3 separate regions of the Homo sapiens genome follow, and all the other regions are linked to region 1. The links are contacts of gene promoters, found by promoter capture Hi-C in human tissues and cell types (Jung and others, 2019). All regions are on one chromosome and are shown on one strand. The core of a region is centred on a gene start or on the middle of the fragment in contact, and the rest is flanking DNA. Distances in the headings are between cores, read along the strand shown.

Evidence for each region. Contacts are between HindIII fragments. The study calls those that stand out against the background at their distance.
Region 2: a fragment that was not itself captured here is called in contact with the fragment with the promoter of STRIP2 in region 1 in 1 of the 25 tissues and cell types used here (lymphoblastoid cells).
Region 3: a fragment that was not itself captured here is called in contact with the fragment with the promoter of STRIP2 in region 1 in 1 of the 25 tissues and cell types used here (mesendoderm cells).

What each region holds. Positions count from the first base shown.
Region 1 is chr7:129,433,050-129,435,749 of GRCh38, forward strand. STRIP2 (striatin interacting protein 2) reads left to right here and starts at 1,383. Exons shown (of 21, transcript NM_020704.3): 1 at 1,383-1,552. The coding sequence starts at 1,424. RefSeq lists a silencer at 1,263-1,742. The HindIII fragment of the contact is 3,182 bases long and covers 1-2,481 here.
Region 2 is chr7:129,814,687-129,817,386 of GRCh38, forward strand. No RefSeq gene overlaps it. Among named protein-coding and RNA genes, the nearest start is that of MIR183, 41 kb to the left of the region's middle. The HindIII fragment of the contact is 5,374 bases long and covers 1-2,700 here.
Region 3 is chr7:129,859,407-129,862,106 of GRCh38, forward strand. The region is part of intron 3 of UBE2H (ubiquitin conjugating enzyme E2 H); the gene reads right to left. Among named protein-coding and RNA genes, the nearest start is that of MIR183, 86 kb to the left of the region's middle. The HindIII fragment of the contact is 3,660 bases long and covers 1-2,700 here.

The sequences.
Region 1 (2,700 bases), core at 133-2,632:
GTTGTCCCTAAGGTATGGGAAGGTGGAGTAATTCCTCTAGGCCCTTTGCTTTGGGTATATCGTGGAAAATGTTAGGATTTTGGATCTAGGCAGAACTGGTTTGACACCAACACAACCTGAATGAGTTGAGGGCTAAAAGGAAAGCTTTGTGGAGGAGGAGGAGGTGACAACTAACTAGAATCTTTATGAGAGAAAAGGAATCAACCAGGAGAACAGAAGACAGTCTCCTCCAGAGAACAGCATAGGCAAGACCCTGAGACAAGATAGAATATGATACCTTGGAAACCGCAGGGAGGAATCTGCAAGTGCCGGTTTCTTCATCAGTAACATTGGATTCGTAAAAACACCCTGTCGGGGAGAGGTATGATGTGATATTTGGAAAGCGCTTACTGCAGTGCCTGGCACCAAGCTCAGTTCAACAATCCCCCAGACCCTTCCTAAAGCAACCAGGCTGGGGACAGCGATTTGGTCCCACCTGTTCCCCTGAGCCTACGTCTTTGGGGCTTCTATTACCAAGCCAGACTGTCTAAATATTTACTACAAGCTACTTTTTAAATTCAGGAGAGGGCAGATCAAACAGCCTCTTTTGCCCCCAGTAACAATGAGCCCTTAGGAAGCATCTAAGAGAGAGGAAGGAAAGAAAGGACTGGCGAGCAGGTGAGGGTGGGGGCTTGCTCTACCCTCAACATTTACACACCATGAGGAAGAGGCCCCCTACAGCAGAGAAGGGCAGATGACAGGAGCAGCCCTCGAGGGCACCACCAATTTCAGTGATGGAAAAACTCCCCCATCCCACCCTTAGACCTCCAGTCTCCCAGCCAAGCCCTAGCTCCGGGCGAGATGCGTTCTCTTCAGAAAAACGCTGAGAATTCTCAGCTTCCAGAGACAGCGAGTCCCTCGTTTCGGGCGATGTCCCTGGCCACCTGGCGGTGCCATCCCTCCCCTGAGACTAAGCGGGATATGGGACGTGTGCAGGAGCCGGGATATGGGGGGCCGGGTCGGTGGTAACAGGGAAACGGAGACTGCTGTGGAGCAGTAGGCGGAGACTAGAGCTCCGGAAAAGGTCGCTACAGGGACGGGGGTGAGAGCTGAGAGACACCGAGTGAGGAGCACAGAGATAACCCGCCTGATCTCAAGGCCCAGCTTTCGCGAGGTGTGGAGCCTGTAGCTAACCTAGGAGTCTCCGTCCGCCAGCAATGCCGCAGGACTAAAAAGATCCCCTCAAAAATCTCTTCATTGAGCCCCCACCTCCTCGAGTCCCGCTCCGGCCGGTCGAGCAGCCAATCGCCTCGCGGGGCGGGGTTGCGGCGAGCTGCCGTAACCAATAGAGGTGGAGGGGGCGGGGCCTGGCTCCCGGCGCGCGGCGGTAGGGTCGCCTCCGGCAAAGCGAGCTGAACCCTGAGGGGAGCCGCTGACCAGCAGCATGGAGGACCCCGCCGCGCCTGGGACCGGGGGCCCGCCCGCAAATGGCAATGGCAACGGCGGCGGCAAAGGGAAGCAGGCGGCGCCCAAGGGCCGCGAAGCGTTCCGAAGCCAGCGGCGGGAGTCAGAGGTGAGGAGCCCGGAAAGCTTCGGCTGGGGCCCGGAGACGCCCGCCGGCGGGAAGCGGCGGCTGAGGTGATTCGGCCTCGGCCCCGGAGCCCTCGGCGCGCTCGATCAGCCCCGCGCAGTGGGCGCCTGCGGGGTCCTAGCGGCTGAACTCTGGGCTCTTTGGCCCGGACCAGTGTCCGCCCGTCTCCTGCCGCGGGTTGGGGGCTTTCTAGCCCTCTGGCTTTCCCCCGCTGCGCGAAGATGAGCGCGGTATTGAGCGGACCAGATACTTTCCAAATATTTATCTCACTTAATCGCTGCAGCCCCCTGAAGCAGAAATTCCGATCCCAGTTTATAGACGGGGGAACAGGAGCGGAGAGGTTAAGTGACTGGCTTGAGGGGTGGGAGGCTGGAGCTCAGCCGCAGGAAAGCAGGATTGGCGAGTGGGGCAACCGCAGTCCCCCTCCCAGGCTGCCTGCGGCGGGCCCCTGGGCCAGCCGAGGGACTTCTGCCCGTTCCCTGCCCGTCCCCTTCCCCCCGTAAGTCTTAGGCCGTTTCGGGAGCGCCTTCCGCGGACATCAGGCCCCTGCCTGTGAGGGCTGAGCGAGACGGGATTCAGGCAGGGGCAGTCCTGGAGTGGCTATCTGGAGGGAGCAGTCGCAGGATACAGATAGGAGTGTGAATATTTCGATCTCTTCCTCCTCTCCTGAAAAAAGAAACCCTATCTATGAAGATGAAAGCGTTGAATTATTATCACTTCCCTATCCCCTCATTGAGGCAGTTCCCATCAGTTGGATCTGAGCGGGGATCAGAATAGACGACAAAATATCAGATGTGGCAGGGTCTGCAGATATCATCTGGTATAACCCTTTCATTTTACAGACCTAAAAAAAAGAGGAGTGACTTGCCCAAGATCAGACATCTGGCATAGTTGGTGGTCAAGAACACCAGACTTTGGAGTAGTCAGACCAGGTTTTGACTCCTAGCCCTATCATTTACTACCTGTGTGATTTTCGGCACATTACGGAACCTCTCTGAGCTCCAGTTTCTTCATCTGTAAGATGAGATTAACACTGCCTACCTCAGAAGGTTGTGATAAAGTCAAAATGAGATAATTGACTATAAAATGTTTGGCACAGTGCAGGCACAATGCATGTAATTAGTCAGTAC
Region 2 (2,700 bases), core at 75-2,574, 380 kb after region 1:
ACCACCATGACTGACTAATTATTGTGGTTTTGATTTGCATTTCTGTAATGACTAATGATATTGAGGATGTTTTCATATGCTTATTGGCCATTTGTATATCTTCTTTGGAGAAATGTCTCTTCAGATATTTTGCCCATTTAAAAAATTATGTTATCTTTTATTGTTGAGTTGTACTAGTTGTTTGTATTTTCTGGATACTAGGCCCCTATTTTAGGTATGTGATTTACAAGTATTCTCTCCCATTCTCTGGGTCGTCTTTTCACCTTTTTGATACTGTCCTTAAAGAACAATAGTTTTTAATTTTGATGAAGTTCCAAATTATCTATTTCTTCTGTGGTTGCTTATGCTTTTGGTGTCATATTTAAGAACCCATTACCTAATCCAACAAAGATTTACAACTATGTTTTCTTGTAAAAGTTCTACAGTTTATAGTGTTAGCTTTTGCATTTAGGTCTCTGATTCACTTTTGGTTAATTTTTGTATACAATGTGAGATAGGGATCCAACTTCATTTGTTTGCATATGTATAGCCAGTTGTCCCAGCACTATGTGTTACTTTTTTCAAAAAAAAAAAATTGAGAAAGGCTCTCACTCTGTTACCCAGGCTGGAGTGCAGCAGCATGATCGTGGCTCGCTGCAGCCTTGACCTCCCGGGCTCAAGTGATGTTCCCACCTCAGCCTCCTGAGTAGCTGGGTCTACAGGCATGCGCCACCATGCTCGGCTACTTTTTTATTTATTTTATTTATTTATTTTTATTTTTATTTTTTGAGACAGAGACTCATTCTGTCACCCAGGCTGGAGTGCAGTGGTGCGATCTCCAACAGATGTCTTCCAACAGATGAAGAAGGAATATCTTATTAATATTTATTTAGGTCTTTACATTATTTCAATGATGTTTTACAGTTTCAATGTCATATTTTGCTTTTTTTGTTACATTTATTCCTAAGTATTTTATTATTTTTCATGTTACTGAAAATGGAATTGAGCTAGACAAAGCAGCTCACACCTGTAATCCCAGCACTTTGGGAGGCTGAGGCAGAAGGATCAGTTGAGCCCAGGAGTTTGAGATTACAGTGAGCTATGACCATGAACCGCACTCCAGCCTGAGTGACAGAAAGAAACCCTGTCTCTACGAAAAAGAAAAACAAAAGAGAAAATAGAATTGTTTCCTTAATTTTATTTTTGGTTTGGTCATTTCTAAGATGTAGAAATAAGACAATTGATTTTTGTATATTGATCTTGTATCCTGCAACTTTGCTAAACTTCTTCATTCTAACAGAACTTTTTTTTTTTTTTGAGACAGTCTTGCTCTGTTGCCCAGGCTGGAGTGCAGTGGCTCAATCTCGGCTCACTGCAGCCTCTGAACCCTGAACCCTGGTTCCCATGTTCCTCCTGCCTCAGCCTCCTGGGTAGCTGGGATTACAGCTGACCTCCTGACCTCAGGTGATCCACCCAACTCGGCCTCCCAAAGTGCTGGGACTACAGGTGTGAGCCACTCCGTCAGCCCATTCGAACAGATTTTTAATCAGTCTATTCCTTAGGACTTTTTATATACAAGACTGTGATCTGCAAATAGAGACAATTTTATTTATTCCTTTCCAATTTGAATGCTTTTTATTTAATTATCTTGCTTAACCTCCCTGGCTAGAACCTCTAGCACAATGTTAGATAGAAGTGATAAGAGCAGCCAGGTGCGGTGGCTCACGCTTGTAATCCCAGCACTTTAGGAGGCTGAGGCGGGTGGATCACCTGAGGTCAGGAGTTTGAGACCAGCCTGGCCAACATGGTGAAACCCCGTCTCTGCTAAAAATATGAAAAATTAGCTGGGTGTGCTGGCAGGCACCTGTGATCCCAGCTACTAGGGAGCCTGAGGCAGAAGAATCACTTGAACCCGGGAGGCAGAGGTTGCAGTGAGCTGAGATCAAGCCATTGCATTCCATCCTGGGCAATAAGAGCAAAACTCTGTCTCAAAAAAAAATAATAAATAAATAAAGGAAGCAGTAAGAGCAGACATCCTTGTCTCATTCCTGATGTAGGGGAAAGATTTCAGTCTTTCACCAGTAAGCATTATGCTAGTTGTGAGTTCTTTTTTACAGGTTGAGAAATTTTCCTTCTATTCCTAGTTTGTCAGGTGTTTTTATCATTAAAGGGTGTTGAACTCTGTCAAATGCTTTTGCTGCATCTATTGAGATGATTATGTGGGTTTTGTCCTTTATTCTAGTAATACAATGTATTACATTAATTGATTTTCACATGTTAAGCCAACCTTGCATTCCTGCGATAAATCCTGCTTGGTCACGGTGTATAATACATTTCACACGTTAGTGGTTTTGGTTTGCCAGTATCTCACTGAGGATTCTTCCATCTATATTCATAGGAGATATTGGTCTGTGGTTCTCTTTTCCTATGATATCTTTGTCTGATTTTGGTATTACAATACTATTAGCCTCATAAAATGAGTTGAAAAGTGCTCCTTTCTCTTCTATCTTTTGGTAAGAGTGTCAAAATTTGGCATTATTTCCTTTTTAAATTTTGGGTAGAGTTCACCAGTGAAACTGGTTTGGCCTGAGCTTTTCTTTGTGGACAGTTTTCAAACTACTAAGTCAAGCTTTTTGTTATAGGTCTATCCAGATATTTTATTTCTTCTTGAGTTGTTAGTTTTTATGTCTTTCCAGTAATTTCTCAATTTCATCTAAGTTG
Region 3 (2,700 bases), core at 111-2,610, 430 kb after region 1:
AACTGTTGAAATGCTAAAGGAATACCACTTCAAACCACAAAGGATTTCCTAAAAGCAGTGACCAAAATATTTCCTTTAACATTAGTCTACTCATTCAGGGAAACCCAGTTTTGATTAAAATTGGGGCAACCAAGCAAGGAGTTAAAAAAAATACTCTAAGTTGGCTATATCTGTTGGAGGTTTAAGTTTTTAAAATTTTTCCTAGCAAACCAAGTACACACTTTAATAGCTATATGGCCATTTGAACTTCAAGGAGAAATTAATAAAACCAGTTATTCAGTCAGTCAGTATATATGCAAATGGCAATATTCTAAAGCAGAGATCCATTGTCAAAGGTGTCATTTTGTCATCCTTATCACTTCATTTCCTTTTAGGACTCATTCTGTTCCACACTTTCAATATCTGAAGTTCCTTATTAAGGTGAGTATCACCACCACTATCTCCGACCCCCATCCTCCATCACCCCCATCCCCACAGTCTCTCTCTCTCATATTCATTCAGAACATATTTGGTCAGCACCTACACCGCAGGCATTGTGCTTGGATAGGGTATAAAAATAAGACAGTTCACTATTCTTGAGGAGGTCACTGTGGCAGTGGGACAAGAGACACCAATAAATACCTGCAATCTGAATAAAGTATTGATACAGTAGGCGGAGTAAAATGGGAAGAGTCAGGAAAGATGCAGAGAAATGGCACTGGAGGAGGAGCCTCAAGTGAGGCGCTACAGAGATTGTCTCCAAAAACCTGAGAAACTTCCCCTGAAGTAGAAAACAGGGGATAAGAATACCAAGTCCAAGTAGTCCAGTCTTAGACCACTCTAGTCACTCACACTTTTAACTTTTGTTTTTAAATGCTCTGTGTTGAAACAGCATAATGTTCTATCTACTACAATCAAGAGGGCCTATGTGATGTTTAAGTTACTCTGATGAAAAAAAATCTTTGTGTCCAATATTAATTTTTCATTAAGGAAATTAAAGATGTTTCAAAGTCTAGATTTAAGAAGCATGTGGTTTATGAAGACATTTTAATAATGGGAAATGTTCATGTCTTGGTATTAAGAGGAGAAAAATTAGGGTAAAAAACATTCTACATTAACTTTAGAAAAATACTAATACACATGTCCCAGATGCCCCATGAGAGTATTTGTTGCAATATTATTTATAAAAGCCAACAGCCAAATTCAACCCTGTCAATGGGATAGGGTTGGATAAAGGGGAGTACATCCATCTACCTGAGTCCTATACAGCCAAGGGTAATGAAGTAGATCCATGTGTATCAACTTGTATACATCTAAAGCTGAGTTTTGTTTTTTTTTTTTAAGTTGCAGGATGTTATATTTACAGGCTGAGGTTATTTAAATAAACTAAAACAAACAACTACCAATTCTCCATGGTAACAAGTATAGGAAAACTGTACTGAACCAACATATACCAAATTTGCAAAAGTAATTGTTTCAGTTAGGGCACAGGGCCAGGGTCATGATAGGAAAAGGGAACAGAAGAGGAAACAGTGGTTAAAAATGACTTTATCTGGCCAGGCACGGTGGCTCATGCATGTAATCCCAGCACTTTGGGAGGCCAAGGTGGGTGGATCACCTGAGGTCAGGAGTTCAAGACCAGCCTGGCCAACATGGTGAAACCCTGTCTCTAGTAAAAAGAAATAAAAAATTAGCTGAGTGTGGTGGCGTGTGCCTGTAGTCCCAGCTACTCGGGAGACCGAGGTAGAGAATCACTTGAACCCAGGAGGCGGAGCTTGCAGTGAGCCAAGATCACGCCACTGCACTCCAGCCTGGGTGACGGAGTGAGACTGTCTTTAAAAAAAAAAAAAGACTTTAACACTATTAATATATTCCTTTTAAAAAGGGACAATGTGCTTCTATATTATTTGCTCTGTTTAAAACATATGCACATAAATAAGAAACTGAAAGTAAGTACAAATGTTAACAGTGTAGAATTCTTAGTGGTGGTAGTATTTTCTCCGCTGCACTTTTCAAATCTCATCACCACCTCACCACACCTGAACCAGAACTAGGATCACAGCAATGGGAAAAGGCTAGAAGAAAACAGGTGTGGATGGTTGTCATGTTTGCAAGATTCTCCCATTATTTCTACTTGCACTTTTGGCTCTCTGACATTTCTACAATGTGTAATTTTAATAGTTGAGCTTAAAAAAACTCCGAAATAAAAAGTTATCATAGTATCAGCTGGCCACAGTGGCTCTCGCCCGTAATCCCAACACTTTGGGATGCTAAGACGGACGGATTACTTGATGTCAGGAGTTTGAGACCAGCCTGGCCAACATGGTGAAACCCCATCTGTAACGAAAATACAAAAATTAGCCGGGCATGTGGCGCCCACCTGTAGTCCCAGCTACTCAGGAGGCTGAGGCAGGAGAATTGCTTGAACCTGGGAGGTGGCTGCAGTGAGCCGAGATCATGCCACTGCACTCCAGCCTGGAAGCCAGAGCTAGACTCCGTTTCCAAAAAAAGTTATACATAGTATCAAACATTCTAAAATAGACTGAATTACACAAGCATTAACTAGTGCTGAACTATTTTAAGAAAAAGCCAGTAAAACCAACCATTTTATTTGAAATCTCGTATCTTAACACTCTTGTTCAAATAATACAAATTCATTACCCTCCCCCTAAAATCAGAGGAACCTCAGGTTATAAGGTACGTGGTCCTCAAGATCAGTTA